Regions from separate parts of the Homo sapiens genome. Here regions 1 and 2 are each linked to region 3. The links are contacts of gene promoters, found by promoter capture Hi-C in human tissues and cell types (Jung and others, 2019). All regions are on one chromosome and are shown on one strand. Each heading gives the region's core, a stretch centred on a gene start or on the middle of the fragment in contact. The rest is flanking DNA. Distances are from core to core; before and after follow the strand shown. Region 1 overlaps PTPRF (protein tyrosine phosphatase receptor type F). Region 2 holds the start of LOC124904165 (a long non-coding RNA gene). Region 3 holds the start of DPH2 (diphthamide biosynthesis 2).

Region 1 (2,700 bases), core at 166-2,665, 400 kb before region 3:
CCCACCAGACTCGCCTTGGTACTGTCATCCCACCACCTTCCCCCACAACAGCCTTTACAAAGGCAGTTTTCCCCTCCTCCCTGGAAAGCTTTCTGCCTCCCATGCTCATGTGTTTCCTGTTCTTGAATCTCCCTCCTCCAGGAAGCCACCAAGATAGCAAGTGAGCTGTGGAGTCAAACCGATCAGCTCCAACACTGCTGTGGGAGGTTAGCCAAGCGCTCATCCACTTCTGAACCTTGGATTCCCACCATCGACCCCCGACCCTCCCCTCGCTAGGGCTTGTCATCGTCTTCTGCCCATGGGGCAACCAAACCTCTCCACGGAAGGGGACAGGTCTCCTTGCTGCAGTGGGTAAAGGCCAGCGCAGTTAGGTGCAGGAGGCATTCACACACACGTGCACACTCCCCACCTTGCACACATATCTGCGTGAGCCGGGGAGACCCTAGGGAATGTGTGTGCATGTTGTCTATGCATGCGGGTAGAATCCGCAAACGGTGTGGAGACTCGGGCTCTTGGGTACCTCTGAAGGCCCCTGAAGTCCCCATGGGCTTCTCCTTCCGTCCAGGGCACCCTCTTATCAGGCCATGGCCCTGAGACGCGTAGTGCAGACGCCCCCGGCGCTGAGGCTGAGGAGGCAGATGGCCCCTCCCCGCACTGTGCAGGGCACCCGGTTGGGGGTGGAGGGGAGGGCCGCGTCGGTGAAGCGGGAAAGCCTAGTGGGAGGATTCCCTGGAGCTGAGGAGCCGGGGCCTGGGAAGGGGCGCAGAGGCTCCACCCAGGCGGGGGCGGGAAGGGCGGTGCCAGGGCGGACAGCGGACGCGCGCGCCTGCACGGACTCGGGCACACGCAGCCCTTCCGCGGCAGCGCCCGCCGCTCCACCGTCGCCATGGCTACCGGCTGGCCTGGAGCGGGGAGGGGCCCTTCCTCCCCTTCGGCGCCAACAGGAGGCGATTTGAGGGGACTCAGCGTGACTGGTGCATCCCGGGGTTGGAAAATGGGTGGGTGCTTGCGACTGTCCACGTGTGGGGGACCCTGGGGTTCGCTTTGCGGTAGATGCAAACGCCGCGGCGCGTGTGCGGGGCTCTGCAGTGGAGCCTGAGCCGTGCCGGCCGAGGCGTGGTGTGGGGGAGGCTGCCGGCCCTCTCGCGCGCGGGGTGTTCACGCCTAGAGCGCTGGGGCTGGGGGCCTACCACCCGGTCTCCTCCCAGCCCCACCTCCGATTTAGCTGTGTGACCTTGGGCAGGTGTCCAGATGTCTAGATCTCTCTCAGCCCCTGGTTGCCCATGTACCTCATAAGGGTTTGGTAAAGATTTAAGTCATTTTGTAAAGCATTTTAACATAGTACCTGGAACCTAGTAAATGCTTCATAAATCTTACTGTCCCTCATACCTGGGTCTCAGTTTTCCCAGTTGTTGATGGGTTTGGAGTGATCATGTGACATCATCTGAGGAGTTGCCCAGGTCCTCAGCCTGAGTGTTGAGGCTGCGGTAGACCCAGCTTCCGCGGGTGCCCGTGGGGGAAGGTGGTAAGTGTGCCAGTCTGGCTGATAGATCAGTTTACACCAGGATGCCCAGTGCTCAGCCAGGCCAGGCGCATGGTGGGCGTCAGGAAAGGGCTGCTGTACTTGGCTGAGTTGAATGTTCAGAGGCGCCTGGATGGGAGAGAAGGAAGAGGCAGCAGCAAGTCGCTCCTGAGGGGCTGGAGCCCTCCTGTAAGACCCACTTCCCTTCCCGGGTGGCAGAGTGGCAGACTTCCGAGTGCTGCCTAGAAGCCTAGTTGGCACAGGGGACTGGCTTTTGGGTCCCGCTGTTTTATGGACAGCTCTCCACACATTCTGGTTTTAGGCTCTGGCGGCAGTGCCTGAGGGATGATCTGAGCCAAGGACAGAGCCACTGAGGGCGTGATAATTGAGGGAGGAAAATTAATTGTCCTTAATTTGGCGTAAATCCCAAAGACCTTCCTCGTGTAAGGAATTCAGAGTAGATTCCGAGACACAGGGCTGCACACATTTGTACTTCCCTTCCCTTCCCTATCTGCGGGTGGAGATGAAGGCCACTTGACTCCTGGGCCCTGACTCTGGCAGGCCATGGCCACGTCTTCCCCATGAGCTGGGCAGGTAGGAATGAGGTCTTGAAAGAGTTAGACTGGTGCTCTGGAGGGCACCCAGGATGGCCCTAGCAGCCCCGAGTGTCCCCAGGTGTTGGGGAGGTGAGCCCTGCACCTCTGGTCCCCCTCAGGCCTTCCTATGGAAGCAAGCAGCAGCTGGGCCAAAGGAGGCTGATCCCCTGCCTGGTGCATCTCAGTCCTCTTCATTTCCGTCCTCCTTCCCTTCTCTTGCCACTGTTGAACATTTTACTTTTAAAAATCTGAAAGGGCACTGTGGGATCATATTTACAGCCAAGGAGACACTGGGTTTATATCCAGAACTTCTAGGGCTGCAGGTGGGGAAACGTACAGCCAGGTCCCAGGAAAGGCTGGGGCGGCAAGGCCGTGCTGGGAATCCTATTGCTCTCTAGCCTGAGACCTCTGCTCCTCATGGGCCACAGTCCCTTTGGGATGTCCCTGGCAGCTAGAGCCTTGGGGAGCATCCCCTGGGACTGGCAGCAGATAGATAGGTATCTTGCTCCTGCCTGTTGGGGCTCGTCCAACTCCCTCTTCTACCCGCCCCCCAGTCGCTCTCCCTGGGTCTCCAAGAGGCTC
Region 2 (2,902 bases), core at 379-2,878, 300 kb before region 3:
TTTACTTTTCATTTTTTAGGAAGAGCAGTTTCTATGGTGTTTAGACACCCTACTGGGTAGAGAGGTAATTGATTGTTGGGTAATCAGTATATGTAGCTGTTGGGGAGATAAAGGGAAAGTGGGTTCATCAGCAGATACGGGGCTAGGTCTCTTAAGTGTCAGATCCATCTTTCACTTTGTTTTCCATCTTCCTCTTGCCTGCCCCCAGTTAGGCCTTTCAAGCATTTAAAAATACTGAGCATTTTTAAATACTGAGGTTATATAGTGACATCCTTCTTTTTTTTTCTTTTAAAAAATGTTATTATATGAACAACATTATAAAGGAGAGTAATATTATGTACCGTAAATCCTGGCTCATGGTGAACACTTAATAAACATCTTATTAAGTGAATGAATATAGAAGAAATAAATTCACTCACCTTCTTTATGGGCTCCTTACTCCTGTGCCCAAACAGTCTAATATTTCATTTTTTCAGATTCCTTTCTACTGCTTGGGAAGTTAAAAAAAAAATCTGCTATTTCAAGGTGTTTTGAGAGTGGGAATAAGTCCCTTAGCTTCTGTACCTGCCCTCCACCCAGCCTCTGATGCTCTCATGTGATTGCAGGTACTCTGTTCCACCTGAGCATGGAAAGCGGTTGGAACGCCTCGCCAAAGGTACTGTGTCTCTTCTGTTTGCTGGATTGGACCCTCCTATGAGCTGTGCTCCTTGCTCTGCACTAAAATGTGCGTTCCCCATGGTCAGATACTTGCAGGTCCTGTTGCAGGCCTGCAGACGGGGGTGAGCCACACTGGTTACCTTAAGAGGGCAGTGACGGAGCCTTTTCTTCCTTTGTCCTGACTGTCTGTGCCTCAGTTTTAATGAGCAGGGGTGTTTCTTTGACCAGCGATAATGAACCAGACCCAGTATGACTGGTGTTTCCACTAAAGACCCAAATGTTAAAGAAAAAATTGAACTTTATGCTTTGTTTCTTTTAAGTGGACTTAGATTTGTATGTCTGGAGAACATAGGAAAGCCTGGGTAGATGATACTACAGCTGCATTACTGAAAAAAGATCAGGGATACAAGTGACTGGAGAAAAGGTCCTAAATAGTTTCAAAGCTCTATAAGAACAGAGGCAGCTTGGGTGACCTTGGTTTCCCAAACAGGATTTCATTACCCACGTAATGCCCTACATGGGAGTGAGCCTAGAGGCTCATTGCAGAATCTTAGAATTGGTGCGGAGCTATAAGGATCCTCAGAGGTCACATTGGTGATGCATCCTCTTTATCATTCCGATGAGAAGCACAGGTGTGAAGTGACTCCAGGATTGCGGAGCTAGTGTGGAGCACTGTGTTAACCTGTACCCTTTCAATTAAATAGGCTTTTTCCCAGGAAGTGCTCAAAGCTGTGAGGCATTTCTCCGCCACAAGATGACCCTGATTTCCCCGTTAATGCTGAAGAAATATGGAATTCCCTTTGACAAGGTGAGCTGATGTTACATGCCAAAGTTCTCAGGCACCACCCTTTCTGGCCTTTGTTTTACAGTTTTATTCTAGTTCATCACTATACCAAGAGGGGGCCAAAGCTTAAATAAACTATGTAACAACACTTTGATCTAAGAGCATTAAAGGTGGGGCCACTGTAGCTTCCTGGTGCCAGAGGAGAGTCAGATCCCCTAGAACAGTGTTCATTTGGAGGAATGGTTAATTATAGTCATGTCATCTGATATGTCTGGGCTTTGCATTTTATAGAAGACAGCAAGGACCCCAGGGGTTTTATGACTTACCCTTTGTTACTCAGCTAAGTTGTGGTGGAGCTCAGAATTCCAGTTCTGTGGACTTCTGCCATTTGAAGCAGCTGCTTCAAGTCTGCTCTTGTTCAGGTGACTCAAGAGGCTGGAGAGTTTATGATCACTTTCCCTTATGGTTACCATGCCGGCTTTAACCATGGTTTTAACTGTGCGGAGTCTACCAATTTTGCTACCCGTCGGTGGATTGAGTACGGCAAGCAAGCTGTGCTGGTAAGTCTGCTTGATTTCTTTCTATAACACCATGACAAAAATGAGCAAATTCTGGTTAGATACGTTGGCTGGTGATTAGAGTATTTCTTTGAGCTGCTGGAATTCAGAAACAAGCAGCTAGCAATGTGTCAGAGTACTAACATTTTGTGTTCATAAGGAATTTTTAAAAATGTGTTCAGAATTGGGAAGTATAAAATGAGGTTCTTAAGTCCATTAGGCATTAAAACCACATCCACACACGTTAATACTCTTGTTTATCCATTCCGAGATTTCTCTGTTGAAATTTTTAGGGGTTTCCTTTACTCTAGGGAAGCAGCAGGGTCGGGCCTTTGACTGATAGTAGTAGACTTGCTTGTGTGTTCCTGGCTTGGACAGGGAACAAGGGCAGGTGGCTCACCGTCCTGGGGGCCTAAGTGCAGAGCCTAACCACCCTCTGTGACCCCGAGTTAGTGCCCAGGTAGATTTGCCCCAGTAGCATGTGCTCTCTGCCTTTTTTTCCCTGCTTCCCTTCATGTTTGAAGGTCCTGCAAGGATAACATGCCCTCAGCCTGTGAACCAAAACAATCTGGTTATAAACCATCTTGCACTTGTTTCCATGTGGAGGGAGGAGCTAGGACGTGGGGGTGAGTTGGAAGCAGCAAGGTATGCTCACCTGGTGCTCTTCTGGTTCCTGCTGACAGTGCTCCTGTAGAAAGGACATGGTGAAGATCTCCATGGATGTGTTTGTGAGAAAGTTCCAGCCAGAAAGGTACAAACTTTGGAAAGCTGGGAAGGACAACACAGTTATTGACCATACTCTGCCCACGCCAGAAGCAGCTGAGTTTCTTAAGGAGAGTGAACTGCCTCCAAGAGCTGGCAACGAGGAGGAGTGCCCAGAGGAGGACATGGAAGGGGTGGAGGA
Region 3 (2,700 bases), core at 156-2,655:
AGGCTGCCTCTCAGGTACCCCAGGCTTCTCCTCAGTAAGATCTGAAGAGCAGAATGAGTTCTCCCCACTTTTACCCTTGAGCTTTCAATCTCCTTGTGGGTGATGGGGAACTCGTTACTCCCACATTCATCCCACTCCTTCCCTGTTCAATAGATCCGGGTTTGATGCTGGTTGTGCCACAGAATTAGTGTCTTATTACACAAGTAGTCTCTTTGAACCTCAGTTTCCGTATCTGACAGAGGTATGTAAGGAGGGCATTTCAAGTGATGTTGCATGTGGGGGTGTTTGCATATAAGTAAACATGGGGAGTAGAGGGGATGTGAGGGGCTGGAGGGTAGAGGTCTATGTGGTATGCACTGGGGGTATTGCTGGGAAGCAGCAGTGTTTGAGGATGGCTGGAGCTGTGCAGAGCATCTCCTGTGACTTGAGGATGTGCCAGTCATGTCCTTGGTACCACTCGGGATAATTCTTACTCCAAAGACTGTAAACACTAAAAATGAAGTGCCTAATGTACAGTAAGTGCTCAGTATTTGGCTGATTAAATAGCAAATGCTTTCACTGCATGCGATATCCAAAGAACTACTTTGTAAAGTTTTGTATATAAATTAATTAGACCCTCACAACAATCTTATTAAGAGGTACTATTGTCACAACTCCCCATTCTTCAGATAAGGAAATGGGCATAGGGACATTCCTAAGATACTCAGTAGCAAGTGACCAAGCACAATATTCAAACCCGAGCCGGTCGGCACCAAGTTTAAAATTATGCAGTGTAGCCGGGCACGGTGGCTCACGTCTGTACTCTCAGCATTTTGGGAGGCCGAGATGAGTGGATTGCTTGAGTTCAGGAGTTTGTGACCAGTCTGAGCAACATGGCAAAAACCTGTCTCTACAAAAAATACAAAAATTAGCTGGATGTGGTGGTGCGCCTGTAGCCCCAACTACTCAAGAGGCAGAGGTGGGAGGATGGCTTCAGTCCAGGAGGTGAAGGTTGTGGAGATCGCGCCACTGCACTCCAGTCCAAGCAACATAGCGAGACCTTGTCAAAAAAAAAAAAAAATGAATGAATGAAAGAATTATGCAGTGATACTGCCCAGAGGATAGAGTGCACGTGAAATGCTTAACAGTGAAGTCGGTGTTCCTGATGGCCGCGGGTCGGCTGAACCGGACTCCCAGCGCCCGAGAGGAGGCCAGGGGAACTACAATGCCCACAAGGCTCCGCGCCTTCCTCGATGTACTTCCGGCTGGCCTGGGACTCAGGCTGAACATTGGTTCTCTGTGCGGGGCGGTGGCGGGGATTGGAGGGCGGGAGCTGTGCTGACTTAGGATTGGCAAAATCGCTATCAGCCACGCCTCTAAAACCCGGAAGTAACCTCCCCGGTAGTCCCACGTGTAGCGGAGAAACAGTAGTTAGGATGGCTGAAGGGGATACTCACCGGCTGAAGGCCGACTGTGATTCCCCCTACCCCCACAAGGCGATTTTGACCCCCTGAGGGCTGCTCTAGAGGACTCAGGCCCCGAAGCTGTCCCAGGGAGGTCCCCGCTGCATCCCACCACCCAAGCTGTGCCTCATGGAGTCGATGTTTAGCAGCCCTGCCGAGGCGGCGCTGCAGCGAGAGACCGGGGTGCCAGGACTGCTTACTCCTCTTCCGGACCTGGACGGAGTGTACGAGCTGGAGCGAGTCGCTGGATTTGTCCGCGACCTGGGGTGTGAACGAGTGAGGACAGACTTAGGGAAGGGTGGCTCGCCTCTGTCGGGATGGGTCGCCCAGAGGATCCGGATCTTGGGGGATTTTGTGAGGGCGAGAGGGTGGGGGAATCAGTCTGTCCGCAGCGCGTTGACCATCCCTCCCTTCCACCTACTACGTGGGGCAGAGTGCCCCTCTGGGACCAGGGGCTTTGAAGGTTGAGTGGGAGCTCCTGGAAGATTGCTTTAAAGAAGCCCTCAGTGGGAGAGAGGCTGTCCCTGACTCCATGGTTTATGCTTATAGGTTGCCTTGCAGTTCCCTGACCAGCTATTGGGAGATGCTGTGGCTGTGGCTGCACGACTGGAGGAGACGACAGGGTCAAAGATGTTCATTCTGGGTGACACAGCCTACGGCAGGTGTGAACTTGGCCTTAGGTGGGCCAGGCCTGGGGATCCGGGGCTCATGGGGTTTTACGTCTATGACAGTGATTGCCTTCAATGGTGGTGTTTCTCCTTGATGATAATGGTAATGACTCCCCTTCTGATGCTAGCTCCTTTCATTGACAATGTCTTCCTTTAATGAAACCATTTTATTCACTGACCACATTTCCCAGTGATGACAGCAACTCGCCTCCAGAAGAGAACCCATTTCTCTGATGCTATCTTCCCTGCAGCTGCTGCGTGGATGTGCTGGGTGCTGAGCAAGCTGGAGCTCAGGCTCTCATACATTTTGGCCCTGCCTGCTTAAGCCCTCCAGCCCGCCCACTGCCCGTTGCCTTCGTGCTTCGTCAACGTTCTGTGGCCTTGGAGCTCTGTGTCAAGGCCTTTGAGGCCCAGAACCCAGACCCCAAAGCGCCTGTGGTGCTGCTGAGTGAGCCGGCCTGTGCCCATGCCCTGGGTAAGGGGTTTTGCCTGTGTATGCACAAAGGGTGAGCCAACTGCTTTATGCCTTAATTTCCCCATTTCCATATACCATCCATAGAACTCTTGATATGGGCTTGGCCCCAGCCTAC

The links. Contacts are between HindIII fragments. The study calls those that stand out against the background at their distance.
Region 1: a contact is called between a fragment that was not itself captured here and the fragment with the promoter of DPH2 in region 3, in 1 of the 25 tissues and cell types used here (dorsolateral prefrontal cortex).
Region 2: a fragment that was not itself captured here is called in contact with the fragment with the promoter of DPH2 in region 3 in 1 of the 25 tissues and cell types used here (mesenchymal stem cells).

The regions. Positions count from the first base shown.
Region 1 is chr1:43,565,020-43,567,719 of GRCh38, forward strand. All of the region lies in intron 5 of PTPRF (protein tyrosine phosphatase receptor type F), which reads left to right. Among named protein-coding and RNA genes, the nearest start is that of PTPRF, 35 kb to the left of the region's middle. RefSeq lists an enhancer at 80-875 and a silencer at 720-869. The HindIII fragment of the contact is 5,442 bases long and covers 1-2,700 here.
Region 2 is chr1:43,665,091-43,667,992 of GRCh38, forward strand. KDM4A (lysine demethylase 4A) reads left to right here. Exons shown (of 22, transcript NM_014663.3): 6 at 606-655; 7 at 1,362-1,465; 8 at 1,864-2,001; 9 at 2,682-2,902. It overlaps LOC124904165 (a long non-coding RNA gene), which reads right to left and starts at 2,742. Exons shown (of 3, transcript XR_007066050.1): 1 at 2,654-2,742; 2 at 1,768-2,022. RefSeq lists an enhancer at 1,222-2,421. The HindIII fragment of the contact is 3,337 bases long and covers 1-2,902 here.
Region 3 is chr1:43,968,605-43,971,304 of GRCh38, forward strand. DPH2 (diphthamide biosynthesis 2) reads left to right here and starts at 1,406. Exons shown (of 6, transcript NM_001384.5): 1 at 1,406-1,718; 2 at 1,992-2,104; 3 at 2,362-2,585. The coding sequence starts at 1,572. RefSeq lists enhancers at 1,437-1,716, 2,202-2,700. The HindIII fragment of the contact is 15,505 bases long and covers 1-2,700 here.